Linked DNA regions of Homo sapiens: all the other regions are linked to region 1. Evidence: promoter capture Hi-C in human tissues and cell types (Jung and others, 2019). All regions are on one chromosome and are shown on one strand. The core of a region is centred on a gene start or on the middle of the fragment in contact, and the rest is flanking DNA. Distances in the headings are between cores, read along the strand shown.

Region 1 (4,331 bases), core at 614-3,113:
TGGAACTAGCTGGTGCTGGGGCTTGCATAATGAACAAGGCAAACCCGAAAGTTGACGAAATCAGGGTGCTTGGAAGTGAGGGCGCGCGAGGAGGGGGCTCGGGCCCCCGGAGTCCACGCCAGCCAGGGCAAGGGGCTCAATCTGCAGCGATGGCCACGGCCCCGGGCAGGGAGAAGTGGTGGCCAGAGAAAGGGATGAGGTGGGTAAAGGGGCGGGGGCAGCTGAGGTCCCAAATCCAGGGACGGCGAAGCTCTGGGAAAGCGAGGCGGCCGCTCCAAGCAAGGCTTTTGTTCTCGCCCTCCCCTCACTCCACCTCCCTCGTCTCCTTTTCGCGAGTCGTACGAGTTGCAGGCGGCACTCACTCTGACCCTCCCTCCTTCACACACGCGCGCTCGGGCTCACACACGCCCCCCTCCCCTTTCGGGCTCGCCTGCCCCTGTTTACCAAAAAGCTAGCACCTGGAATCCGAGGGGTGCCATGGACCCTCTCCCCAAACCCGAAGATTTCGGGGCCACGGGCTCCCAGGCTACGTGTCTCAAGTCCGCCTCAGTCACCAGCGGGAGGAGGCGGCCAGAGGGTGAGGGAGCAGAGTCACACACACACACACACACGCTCACACACACACGAACACGCTCAGACCCACACCTGTGCTGAGCCCAGCGCCCCTTCTCCGTGTTCCAAGCCGAAGTTGGCTTCCCGGTGACATCCCCCAGCGGAGAGGCTGGGATGCGGGGAGCGGGGACCGTGGGGAGCGCCATTGCCTGGGGGAAGGTGGGGAGGAGAGAGCAGGGAGAGCGAAGCCCCGAGGGGAGGGCGAAGGGGAGGCAGCCCACCTGGACATGTGCTCCCTTTGGGGCCGGTGCGCTTTCTCCAGCCCCAGCTTGGTGAAGATGCCCACGAGCACCATGACGGCCACCACCCCGCAGATGATGTAGACGATCAGGTTGGTCTTGTCCTTGGTGGGGTCGTGCAAGGGGTCGTCCTTGCGGGCGGGGGGCTTGCCGGTGTTGAGCCAGAGCGGCGTGTCGTAGTTGGTGCAGGTGCTTTGGTTCAGTCGCCGCTTCTTAAACGTGCAGCAGAACCGGAAGCCACAAGTCCCGCAGCAGAAGATGAAGTCGCCCGAGCTGCAGTTGAACGGCGGGTCCCACTGGCCCATGACATCGAAGTAGCCCCGGCAGAAGTCCGGCGTGGGCGCCCGGGTCGGGGGCGCGTCCGATGCCTCAGCGCCCTCGCTGGCCTCTCCGGAGGCGGCCCCGGAGCGGTTGCCCCCCGCCAGCAGCAACACGCCGCCCAGTTGCGCCAGCTGCCCGTGTCCCGCTCGCTCCTGCGCCCGGCACACGCGGGCGCACAGCTCGGTGAGGAAGCAACCGAGGAGCAGCCGAAGGACGCGGCGCATGGTGTCTCCCAGCCCGGGCTCGGCCGCTCGGCCGCCGCTGGAGCCTCTGCGGCCGCCTCTCGAGGCGCGGCCGAAGCTGCCGAGGCTGCTGCCGGGAGCTGCGAGCCGCCGCGGGCCGCACATGCAGGGAGCGGCGCGGGGCGCTCGGTGGTCGGCGGCCACTGCGCTCGGCTCAGCCCGCGTTCGCCTCAGCCCGCGTTCGCCTCCAGCGCGCCGCGCGCCGAGGGGCCGGCCGGGGAGGAGCGCGCCCGGCCGGGCGGGGGGAGGATGAGCGGGGTCAAGCGCGGGGTGCAGGTCCGGCCGGCCACTGGGTGAGGCGGGGGTGGAGAGCAGAGGAGAATCGGGCTGGCAGCGCCTAGCCTTGGCCGGCAGCCCCGGACTGGCCGCCCCTAGCCCTCTCGCAGTATCCCTCTCACCTCACCAGCTCGCCAAGTGCGCTGAAGAGAGCGAAGCGACACTTGTGGAATGAAGGGAGGGCAGGAGGGAAGGGGGAGGGGGAGGAGGGCGGGCAGAGGAGGCGCGGGTGGGGGGGGGCGGGCGCGAGCTCTAGAGGGGCGGGGGCGCGGGGAAGAGGTGACTAGAGCGGGAGCTAGCTGGGGGGCGTGCAGAGCTGAGCCAGGCGAGCGGACGGGGAGGAGCGAGCTCGGCAGCAGCCGAGGCTAGAGGAGCCGCTCGGATTTCCAGGCAGGTGGAAAACCGCGGCAGGACCTCCCGCGCCCTCTCTGGGTAGGAGGCGCGGCTCAGCCCTGTCCAGAGCGCAGAGGCGGCTCAGCTCGTAGCTTTTTCACCGGTGCGTGTGCAGGAGCGGCGGCCGAAATCTGTGCATCAGGGGAAGGATGACTCGGAGAGGATGGGGACAGACTAAATGGCTTTCACTCCAAGACAGACTGGGTGCAGTCTGGTCAGGATCGCCCCTCCCAGGCGTGCGGGGCCTCCTTGCCCTTCCCGGCTGCGCCCTCCAGCCCTGAGCGCAACCCGCATGGCTCAACTCTCTGGGCCCAAGCAAGGACCCAGGCGGAGCTGGGAAGGACAGGTGGCAAGCCCCTGAGCCAGGGATAAGCACCCTCCGGGGGAGAGGGGCTCGGGATGAACGAATCAAAGAAGGTCGGGGGTAAGAGGGGACAGCCGAACAAGGCCGAGGCTATGGCGTGTCCTGGAAGGTCTTTCCTTGGAAGTCCCCCAGCCTCTCGAACCTGCCGCTTTCTGTCCCTCTTCGCCCCCGCAGCGTTTTCTGCGCTCCACAGGAGGGAACACCGCGGCGCCGCCTCTGCGCTCCCGGATCTGGCGCAGCGCAAGGCCTGGGCACCCAGCCTCAGCCACCCTCCCGGACCTGGAGCCCGCGCATCGGTCTCTGGAGCTGGCTGGCCCCTGTCCCCACGGATCCCCCCGGAAATCCTCACCGGGGGCTGCAGAGCTCTGCCTTGCTTCCTCAGCTTCCAGCCTCCCGTCTCCTCTGTGTTTCCAAATCTGCCCTCTCTCTCCTAGCGAATTCCAGCTCCCCGGAGGCCCTCTCTCATTTCTCCCACCTCTTTCTCTCCTCTGCTTGAATTTGACTCCAGTAGCCCCAAAACAGGATTTGCACCAAAGCTGCTACACCAAATTTAGATCTCCCCACGCCCCGGCGTTTTGTTTTTTAATTGCATTAACTAAGTATACACTTTGCAGGCTGCTAGGCGATTTGCAAGGAGATAATGTTTCCACAACCCTCCTCTCCACTTGGCTGCAGTCAAGGGCTTCTCAGGGCATCTTCAGAGAACGAAAAGTTGGGCGACATGTAAAATGGTTTACTAGGGTCCCCTGAATTGAGAAAGGGTGGGAGGATTTATTGGGACTCTGTTGCAAGTTTTCTCCAAATGAGAAGTTTGGCTAATCGCCCCTTCTCTTTGAAAAAAAAAGTCACATTTTGATGTTTCAAAAAAGATTTGCAAACACACAGCAAGACATTGACAGGGCATACCCAGGAGTATTATATTCCAAACCCATCTGGGGAAGGTATGAACACGTTTAATCCAGATTCACCAGATTCATTATAATAGAATCCCCAAAATAGGAGAGTATGGAAAGTCTGTCATGACTGGCAACCCACGCCCACCACCACCTTGTGAGTCCTACAAACACAAGCACTGGTGTGTGAGAGCTAATGAGAGCTGACATTTATTCAGTGCCTGCAACATACTCACTAAGCTTGCTTTTTCTAAAAGCAGCTCCTCAAGAAAGCTTAGAGCAGTGCCCAGCGTATAGCAGACAGTCTGGAAATATTTGCTGAACCACCGAGTGACTGGTTTCATGTAACTCTCTCTCCCTTAGGTAATAGTACCAGGCCCACACAACAGAGGGAGAGAATGAGCCCCAAAGCAGTTAAACCAGTTGCCCAAGTAGCTCTGCCAAATGAGTGCCAGAATTGACATTTGACCCAAGAAATTTGAGTCCAGAAACTGCCCTCCAGCCACTACATGAAATAGGCCTCCAAACTTTCTGTCTACCTCCTACTATATTATGTATTTGCGTTTTCGTCTGTTTGCCTGCACTGAGATGTGAACTGTGTAATGGAGAGGGCCTCGACTCCCATACCATGTCCCCAGCCCCTAGAACCCAGGCATACGGAGCTGCCTTGCGGGTCCATGGCTGCGCCCTCCAGCCCTGTGCGCAACTCCAGGGATTTGAGCCTTTGGGGTTGTGCGGGGCTGCAGGGTGCAGCCCCGGGGTACAGTTCTAAGCATGGTAAACACTCAAAAAAATGCATGGGTTGTATTAATTAATTTATGCAAGACTCTGTCTTAAACCAAAAGAGGAAAGGAACACTTAGGGCATGGATGATGGAGTATCTGCTGTCATTATGTATATAAAGGGTGGGAGTTTTCTATATACTACATTGGAAATGGAAAGGGACCCTCCAGCGGGCTTCCTATGTTCCAGGAAGCTGTGGCTCAGAGGT
Region 2 (4,499 bases), core at 715-3,214, 37 kb after region 1:
GGATCCTTTAGCCCAACAAAGCCTTCGGACGACTGCAATCCCAACCTGTGTCATAATGGCAACCTCTGAAAGACCATAAGCCAGGACACCCAGTTGAGTCACTCCCAAATGCCCGACCAAGAAAAGCTGCATTAGTCCGAGCACAGTGGCTCACATCTGTAATCCCAGAACTTTAGGAGGCTGAAGGAGGAGGATCACTTGAGGCTAGGAGTTCAAGACAAGCTTGGACAACATAGCAAGACACTGTCTCTACAAAACATTTAAAAAACTAGCCAGGTGGGGTGACACATGCCTGAAGTTTCAACTACTTGGGCGACTGAAACAGAAGGAGCTCTTGAGCCCAGGAGATCGAGGCTGCAGTGAGCTATGATCACACCACCGCACTACAGCCTGGGCAACAGAGCAAGACCCTGTCTCAAAAAGAAGGAAAAAAAAACAGAATAAAGAAACTGCATGAGATAATAAAGGTTTATTGTTCTCTTAAGTCCCTATATTTGGGGAAATATTTGTTGTGCAGCCATCAATAACTAATACAGTCATGAAGCACTATCGTGAGAAGCTTGGGTTTTCTTTTTAGCATCATTTGACGATTTTAAGTGGGAAGATAATGTGATCTGATTCATGTTCACATGGAGCACTCCGGATTCTGGGAGGGGAATGGGATGTAGCAAAGCAAGAGAAACCGAAGTGTTGGAAGGATTCCTAATTCCAGACTTCCTTCCAGCTGTCTGAAAATGCCCTTTAATTTCTTTCCAACCATCCAATTGCAGTCTTGCAGTTCCTAATAGGAGATGGAACAAGTTCTGAAGTTTAGAAATGTTGGAAGCACTGCACAGCTTCCTGTCTTGTTGTCACTCCACTTCCACTCTCTATGTGGTCACCAAATATTTTGTCCAGCTTATCCCATGACAGCACTACATTTCCTGGTTCCCCTGTGATTGGGTGGGACCTTGTGACTAGTTTTGGAGAATGAATTGTGAGTGCACGTACCCCATATTGCTGCAAGCCAAGGATTGTATTGCTCACTGAAGACCCTCCAATGCTGTCTTCTTTCATGAGTGTGCATATGAGACGGCGGCTGCTCCATTAGCCTGGACCCCTGAGTAACCAAGAGGAGCAGAACACCCCTTGCCAACTCTAGACGTATCAATGAGCGTGAACGAGAAATAAACCTTTTCTGTTTTAAGATATTGAAATGGGCCAGGCACAGTGCTTCACGCCTGTCATCCCAGCACTTTGGGACGCTGAGGTGGGTGGATCACCTGAGGTCGGGAGTTCAAGATCAGCCTGGCCAACATGGAGAAACCCCGTCTCCACTAAAAAAAAAAAATAGCCGGGTGTGGTGGCACATGCCTGTAATCCCAGCTACTCAGGAGGCTGAGGCAGAAGAATCTCTTGAACCTGGGAGGCAGAGGTTGCAGTGACCTGAGATCGCACCACTGCACTACAACCTGGGCAACAAGAGCAAAACTCCGTCTCAAAAAACAACAACAACAACAAAAAAAAACCAGCACATCCTAACTGATAGACTTTCTTATAAAGCCAGTTTTTATTATTAATAGGTGCCATTTGTGGATTATCTACATGACTCTAATAATTTATTATCTATGACCTTGTTCAATTCTCACATCTCCTGCAAGATAAATATTATTATTTCTATTTGACAGATGAGGAAACAGGGGCTCAAAGAAGTAAAATAAAGTGGAAAATCCACAGGAAATGAAATTAATATCTGTAGGGATGTTTTTTAAGTACCAGCAATATCAAACACTTAACTTTTATTAGGACAAGTGGCATAACTTCTCTGTGCCCCATTGTATCATCTGGGATTCAGCTGCAAAATCTCTCCCACTACGTAAGGCAAAAAAGAATTTAATAGAAAGAATTCAGTTCAGGCTGGGCATGGGGGCTCACTCCTGTAATCCCAGAGCTTTGGGAGACCAAGACGGGCAGATCACTGAAGGTCAGGAATTCGAGACCAGCCTGGCCAACATGGTGAAATCCCTGTCTCTACTAAAAATACAAAAATTAGCTGGGCATGGTGGCGGGTGCCTATAATCCCAGCTACTCAAGAGGCTGAGGTAGGAAAGTCACTTGAACCTGGGAGGCAGAGACTGCAGTGAGCTGAGTTTACACCACTGCTCTCCAGCCAGGGTGACAGAGTGGGACTCCATCTCAAAAAAAGAAAAGAAAAATTAGATCAAACAAAATTGTTATGAGGGCTGGAGGAGCAGGATCTAGGCTGTCCTCTAGGAACGACTTCCAGAGCAGCATCTCAGAACTTGCCCATCAGAGAAAGAGGAAGAAGGGCCAGCAGAAAGCCACCTTCTGGGCCAGGCGCAGTGGCTCACGCCTGTAATCCCATCACTTTGGGAGGCCAAGGTGGGCAGATCACAAGGTCAAGAGATCGAGACCATCCTAGCCAAAATGGTGAAACCCCATCTCTACTAAAAATATGAAAATTACCCGGATGTGGTGGTGTTCACCTGTAGTCCAAGCTTCTCAGGAGGCTGAGACAGGAGAATCGATTAAACCTGGGAGGTGGAGGTTGCAGTGAGATGAGATCGCGCCACTGCACTCCAGTCTCGTGACAGAGCGAGATTACATCTCAAAAAAAAAAAAGGAAAAAGAAAAAGAAAAAAAGAAAGCCACCTTCTGATGTCTGGCTTCAGGATCACACCACCTTAACCATGGCCCAGATGCAGGAAACAATCCCTCCTCCTGCTCTTTGTCAAGCCACATCTCATCTGCTGTGAGCTAACACCAAGTTGGATGCCTCATCTCCCCACCAAACTTCATTCTAAACTCAAGTCTTTGGTGAGTCCATATGATTGGTGGTTCTGAATCAGACCAGGAGCGCTAGCTACAAGGGAGTCTGGAAAACATGTTACAGATTTTCACTTTCCAGTCTCTGCAGTACGAGAGACGTCCTAGAAAAACAGTTGAACAGATGTTAGAAGAGACAAGTGACTGGATCCACTACACTGTTTTTCCACCTGAAAAAATGGGTTTGTAATTTCTGCTCTATGTAATCATAGGGCTATGTTGAGGAGAAAACAAGACCAAAAATGTGGACCTACTCAAATATCACTGCCTTCTTGATATCAAACATAAAAATCCTTCTGATAATCCTATATGGTCAGTATCATTATCTCCATTTTTAGCAAAATGAAGTTAAGGCTTTGGAGGCTGAGCTCACACAGGTAGTAAGCTTTAGGCTTGATGCCATAAAGTGACCAGCTTGTCCCAGCTTGAAAGTAGCCAGACTTGTTTTGTGTGTGTGTGTGTGTGTGTGTGTGTGTGAGATAGAGTTTTGCTCTTGCCGCCCAGGCTGGAGTCCAGTGGTGGGATCTCAGCTCACTGCAACTTCCGCCTCCCAGGTTCAAGCGATTCTTGTGCCTCAGCCTCCCCCAACAGCTGGGATTACAGGTGCCTGCCACCACGCCCAGCTATTTTTTTGTATTTTTAGTAGAGATGGAGTTTCACCATGTTGGCCAAGCTGTTCTTGAACTCCTGACCTCAAGTGATCCACCCACCTGGGCCTCCCAAAGTGCTGGGATTACAGGTATGAGCCACTGCACCCAGCCTAAATCAGCCAGACTTTCCACACTACCTCTCTGTTCCTGACGCTCAAGCCTCTTTTAGCCTGGAAAGAATATTCTGTGTTTCTTAATTAGTGCTAATGGAACACGTGCATTTCCTCCAGGCACAAAAATTCTCTGCATATTTCTGCCTATTTAACCACATGTTCTAATTGATATCTTTCCCCCTGCCCCCCAACTAATTTATTTACTAATTAAAACTCTGTTCAAATGAATCGCACTTGATTCAGGTCCCGCCTTCACAGCATTTTGCAGCAAGCTTCAAGGAGGCTCCTGGGGAATGTTCTTTCTGGGAGCGCTCAGTTTAGGGTTGGATGTAGGACCCTTCCCTTGTGCTCCCTAAAGAAGGGGTCAGGCTGCCCCCTCACAGGACCAGGGGATGGTCTCTGAGTCAGCGGCTGGCGGCACTCAGCGTTTGAAGACATAGTATGTGCCAGGCAATAGGACAAGCGCAAGGAGAGACAAGCAATAATGGCTCAGGTTCTCAATCCAGCTGAGCTTTTAACAAGCTATGTGATTTGAGGCAAACTAGTGGACCTCTCAGAGCCTCCCTCTCCTCAGCTGTAAAATTTCACTAATGAATTTAACTTTCTTAGTAACGTTGAGGGGATTAAATGAGTTGATGCAGGGGTCCCCAAACCCCGGGCCGAGGGCTGGGAACTGAGCCACACAGCAGGAGGTGAGCAGTGGGTCAGCAGGAGGTGAGCGGCGGGCGAGCAGGCGGTGAGCGGTGGGCAAGCGGGAGCGGGAGGTGAGCGGTGGGCAAGCGGGAGCGGGAGGTGAGCAGTGGGTGACCGGGAGGTGAGCAGTGGGTGACCGGGAGGTGAGCGGTGGGTGAGCGGGAGGTGAGCAGTGGGCAAGTGGGAGCGGGAGGTGAGCAGTGGGTGAGCGGGAGGT
Region 3 (5,001 bases), core at 687-3,186, 36 kb before region 1:
GGTGACAGAGGGAGACTCCATCAGAAGGAAAGAAAAGGAGAGGAGAGAAGAGGAAAGGAGAGGAGGGGAGAGGAGAGAAGAGATGAAACTACTTCCTGATGGAGTTTTTCCCCCAAAACATCATCTGAATGTACTAACTCAATGAATATCCACCCTCAATGCTTACTTGGAACATGGCACATACTCAACATGGGAGGGAGAACTTAGAAGTATTTGCTGCCCTCAATGTGTTTTCAATCTAGTTAGAGAGAAAACTACAGACTCCTAGGAAAATTAAGATACACCACAAAAATCAAAGTCAAAGGCAACATGGCATGGAAAGTCAAAAGGCAGAATGGCTCACGCCTGTAATTCCAACACTTTGGGAGGCTGAGGTGGGTAGATCACCTGAGGTCAGGAGTTCAAGAGCATCCTGGCCAACATGGTGAAACCCCCTCTCTACTAAAAATACAAAAAAAAAATTAGCTGGGCGTGGTGGCAGGTGCCGGTAATCCCAGCTACTCAGGAGGCCGAGACAGGAGAATCACTTGAACCTGGGAGGCAAAGGTTGCAGGAAGCCAAGATCATGCCATTGCACTCCAACCTGGGCAACAAGAGTGAAACTCCATCTCAAAAAAAAAAGAGAGAGAGAGAGAGAGAATTAGCCCCTAGGAGTCAATAAATGTAAGCTGACTTGGAGAGAACAGAATTGAGCACATCACTAAGAAAGAGTCATGGGAGTGGAAGAAACAGATAGATCGATTATAAGGAGCTGAGCTTTGCCTTGAGTTCTCAAAATGTGTAAGACTTGTCTAGCAAGAAAAGAGAGAGGTATTCCAGGGAGAGTTGCAGTAAGTCATTGATAGCCCCACTATGGTCTCAATTCCCCCAGGCTGCTGAGCTTCTGGAAGATGAAGAACTGACCCATCGGAAAATATACAGATTGGAACAAGCATAGCTTTATTCTTCCCCTTCTCGGGATGGACCCCAACACCTAACCAAGGCTTTCCCTCTTACACTAAGCTTTGAGGACAGCCATGGCCTCATAAGAATCACAATCCATTCTACAAGTCCAGCAACAGTTCATCAAGGAGAGACTGGTGGCCACTGGCCAAGATCTCTGTATGCTCCTCAAGGGTTTCAATAGTTGGATTCCATTTACCTCTCTGGATTCCAGCTGCCTCACCTTATAAAATCACAGCTGGTACCAATCCTCCAGGCTCAGCTCACAGCAAAAGGGCAAAAGATATATCTAGGTCTAAATAGACCAAAAGCAAAAAAAAGTCTCCAGTATCCACTGTTATGGACTGAATGTTTGTGTGCCCTCAAAATTCATATGTTGAAACCCTAACCCCCAATGGTTCTGTATTTGAAGATGGGGTCTGTGAGAAGATGACAAAGATCAAATGAAGTCATAAGGATGGGGCCCTAATCTCACAGGGTGGGTCCCCTTATCAGAAGAGGAAGAAACACCAGAGTGCTCTCTCTCTTTCCACCATGTGAGGACACAGCAAGAAGGTGGCTGTCTGCAAGCCAGGAAGGGAGCCCTCTCCAAAACTGTCCCTGATGGACTTGGTCTGGTATGTCTACCCTCCAGAATTGTGAGAAAATAAATTCCTGTTGTTTAAGCCACCCAGTCTGTGTTATTTTGTTAGGCCAACCCAAGCAGACTAATATGCCCACTATTAAATGAAATCAGCAAGGTGCAGAAGTGTTCAGAAATGTTAGTAAATGCATAGAATATCTTTGTGAGAACAGACAATAAACTTATTACAGTGGTTGACTCTGGAGAGGAGAATTAGAGTGCTTGAGGAGAGAGGGCACTTAGTGTTTGCTTCACGTCCTTGAATATTGCTTTACTTTCTTTTCTACCATGTACATATTGACCTATTCAAATAGATAAATACGTTAATTTTTTTAAATGTACTATATGTACATGGACAGACTGCTAGACATAAGACACTGCCTAGAGACCTGAGCAAGTCATCCTTCTGGGAAATTCCAAGCTCCACAAATCATCTAAAACTCAATTCTTAAAATTTCAAAAAATATGCACATAGGTGGGCTTGTACAACACAGGGGAAGGAGCTGTGGTTCACAAGAGGACCAGCTAAGTATGTGAAATTACTTGGGGGATATCCTGTGTTCCAGGTTACAATAGTGATCTTAAAAGACAGTGTTGGAGTAAGGAACAAATACACAAACCCCACCGCCCTCTAGCCAACCCGTGCTGTGTGTCAAGGGTGTCAATGGTTGGATTCCGTTTACCTCAAGGGCTTAGACAAATCTGTAAACAAGCAGGAGCCATATGGCATCATTCATAGGCACCGAGTAGGGGTTTTACAAAATAACAGTAGAGTCTTGTCTCGTGTAGAGATCTGAGGCCAGAGGGAGCAGCTAAAATCATATTCAGCCAAAATTACCCATGATGGCTGTTTCTCTGGTTCAGCACCAGATGAAGTAACTGGCTTGTGTTTAGGGGCCAAGTTATATGAAAAATGCATATCTTTAAATGCTAGAATCACACTCTGGAGAAGCTCGTGGGAAGTGAGTCTGTCTGAAGCAAAAGCAGACTCATGTCTCCCATCTCACTTTGAGCATATGCTCATTGTGTGGAATGGGAAACAGAAATACTCACATTATTTATGTTACACTCTCTCTCTTTCTTCCCCTCCTCCATCCCTTCTCCCATCCCTGAACTGAGATCACAGAGTTGAGTTCACATAACTTAAAGACACTTATGCCTCACTGTGCTCCACAGTAAGGTAAGAGAATATGACATTGGACCAACCTGGCTCCTACTCCAGCCATGGAAACCTAGAAAATTATTATAATCAGATCCCAACTGCTCAAGTATCCCCAGTTTCCTAGCAACCCTCAAAAGGCTTTGGAGAAGGGTGGGAACAAGGACTTCCTGGGTAAGGTGGTGGCAGCTGTTTGAGATTGCTGGAGAGCTTCCCCAAATTGTCTTAAAGGCCTTTCTCACCCGTCATCCCAAGAACCCAACGAAGCACCTGCTAGCGAAGGGACATCAGACGATGCATCTACTCAAGAACTCCCAGAGACTCCGTTCTAAATTCCCTTACCTGGACTTCTAAGCCTTCCATTTGTCAGTCGGCTTCATCACTCCTCACTCTGGAAGGCAGCCCCTCTCTTCAAGTAAGGCTAGTTCCTTTCCACCTGCCTCAGTAGCCTTCTGAGAACACGTTCCCTCCTGGCCCTCATGTCCACTCACATCTCCTTCCCCTCAATATATCCTCCATCTCATATGTCCCTTCTTTTTTTTTTTTTTCTTTTTGAGACAGGCTCTTGTTCTGTTTCCCAGGCTGGAGTACAGTGGCACAATCTCTGCTTACTGCAGCCTCAACCTCCCCAGGTTCAAGTAATCTTCCCATCTCAGCCTCCCAAGTAGCTGGGACCACAGGCACGTGCCACCATGCCCAGCTACTTTTTGTATTTTTTGTACAGATGGGGTTTCACTGTGTTGCCCAGGCTGATCTTGAACCCCTGAGCTCAAGTGATCCACCTGCCTCAGCCTCCCAAAGTGCTGGGATTACCAGCGTGAGCCCCTGGGCCCGGCCTGTCCCTTCTAATTATTCGATTTTCCTTCCCCATGAATGAGCTTCCCATGATCACATATGCCCATTTTTGCTGGAGACATTCCATAGGCTTCATTATTATGCCTAGTTAGAGACAAAAAGCAAACACACGCCCACAGATAAGGAGCACCACAGGAGCTAAGCCACAGGGCAAGAAAATAACGCAGGAAATATCATCAGCAGCATCTAGATGTTGGTAGAATTCTAAGGGATGGAAATGACTTGGACAGATACCAAGATATACATAAATGCAGAGAAGAGATCAGAGAGGAGATGGAATTTGTTTGGGTCTTTAGAGGTTTGTTTGTTTCCCTTTTTGAATACTCATGATCCATTTCCTACTTCTTCTGACCAGCATCTCAATTTTATGGTGGAGACTTTCCTATTCCTCACTATGTGCAGTTTTGGTGAGACTGTCACTCAAAGCCCCTGTCCTTCCCAGCCAAGGGGTGAGCATGTGACTCAATATGGACCAATCAGACCGTCAAGTTTAAGAATCTTACACTTGAATGGACACAAAGAGAGACAAAATTGTTGGAATAATTCATATCAGCAGGAGAGCTCCAATAAGACCATGGTTGGAGCTGCCCTGGTTCCTGACATCCCAAACTTGGACCATCAGACGTTCCTTCAGTTCTATGAGCCAACCCATATTCTTCAAAAGATTTCCCTTTTTTGCTTAAGTCTGAAGAAGAATTGACTTTTGTTGCTTGTAACCAAAATTTCCTGACACAAACTATTTACCCTAAGCCTTGAAGGATGAGAGAGATGAGGGTACAGAGAGGAGAGGAAAGAAAATTATTGATGGCTTTGGCTTTCACTTCCTTTGGTAAGCGATTTTAAAGGGGCTTGGCTGATAACTTTGAAATGTCCATAGGGCAAACTCACTGTGAATGAAGCCTGCCTGAAAACAAAATGTATTGCCTTGAGACATAACGAATTTGCCACCATAGAAAGTGATTAAGGAGGGCCAGCTAAACATTAATCCAATAGCTTTCTTCAAAGTCTTCTCTCCAGAACATTATTTCCCCTATATATCAATAGTTGTTACATAAAAAGGTGTTTAATGGATATATCAGTTTGAAAAACACTGGGATGAACATAAATGTAAATGGCTTTATTGCATATATTCTAGGAGTCTTTAATTTATTTGGCCAAGGAACTCTAATTTTGAAGAACATTTCAAAGGACTAGTGTTCAATGGAGCATCCACTGGGAAGCATTATTGGATGGTCAGGTCAAGCATTGACACACAATAGGACATGTATAAAACACCTAACATACTGTCTAGCGCATAGCAGTTGCTCCAGAATTCTAGCTATAGTCTATAATCAGTATCTTACTTTGTTCCTTTTTCTGAATAGCATTTCCCTACATTTATTTATATAATCTCATCCCCTCCCTTGCCAGACTTCAGCCCCAC

Evidence for each region. The method cuts DNA at HindIII sites, captures the fragments that hold promoters and counts their contacts. A contact is called where the count stands out against the background at its distance.
Region 2: a fragment that was not itself captured here is called in contact with the fragment with the promoter of SHISA9 in region 1 in 3 of the 25 tissues and cell types used here (psoas muscle, small bowel and spleen).
Region 3: a fragment that was not itself captured here is called in contact with the fragment with the promoter of SHISA9 in region 1 in 1 of the 25 tissues and cell types used here (mesendoderm cells).

What each region holds. Positions count from the first base shown.
Region 1 is chr16:12,899,130-12,903,460 of GRCh38, reverse strand. It overlaps SHISA9 (shisa family member 9), which reads right to left and starts at 1,863. Exons shown (of 5, transcript NM_001145204.3): 1 at 834-1,863. The coding sequence starts at 1,396. The HindIII fragment of the contact is 6,671 bases long and covers 1-4,331 here.
Region 2 is chr16:12,862,402-12,866,900 of GRCh38, reverse strand. No RefSeq gene overlaps it. Among named protein-coding and RNA genes, the nearest start is that of SHISA9, 37 kb to the left of the region's middle. The HindIII fragment of the contact is 3,145 bases long and covers 392-3,536 here.
Region 3 is chr16:12,934,125-12,939,125 of GRCh38, reverse strand. The region is part of intron 2 of SHISA9 (shisa family member 9); the gene reads right to left. LOC105371092 (a long non-coding RNA gene) reads left to right here. Exons shown (of 3, transcript XR_001752088.3): 3 at 872-985. Among named protein-coding and RNA genes, the nearest start is that of SHISA9, 35 kb to the right of the region's middle. The HindIII fragment of the contact is 6,366 bases long and covers 1-5,001 here.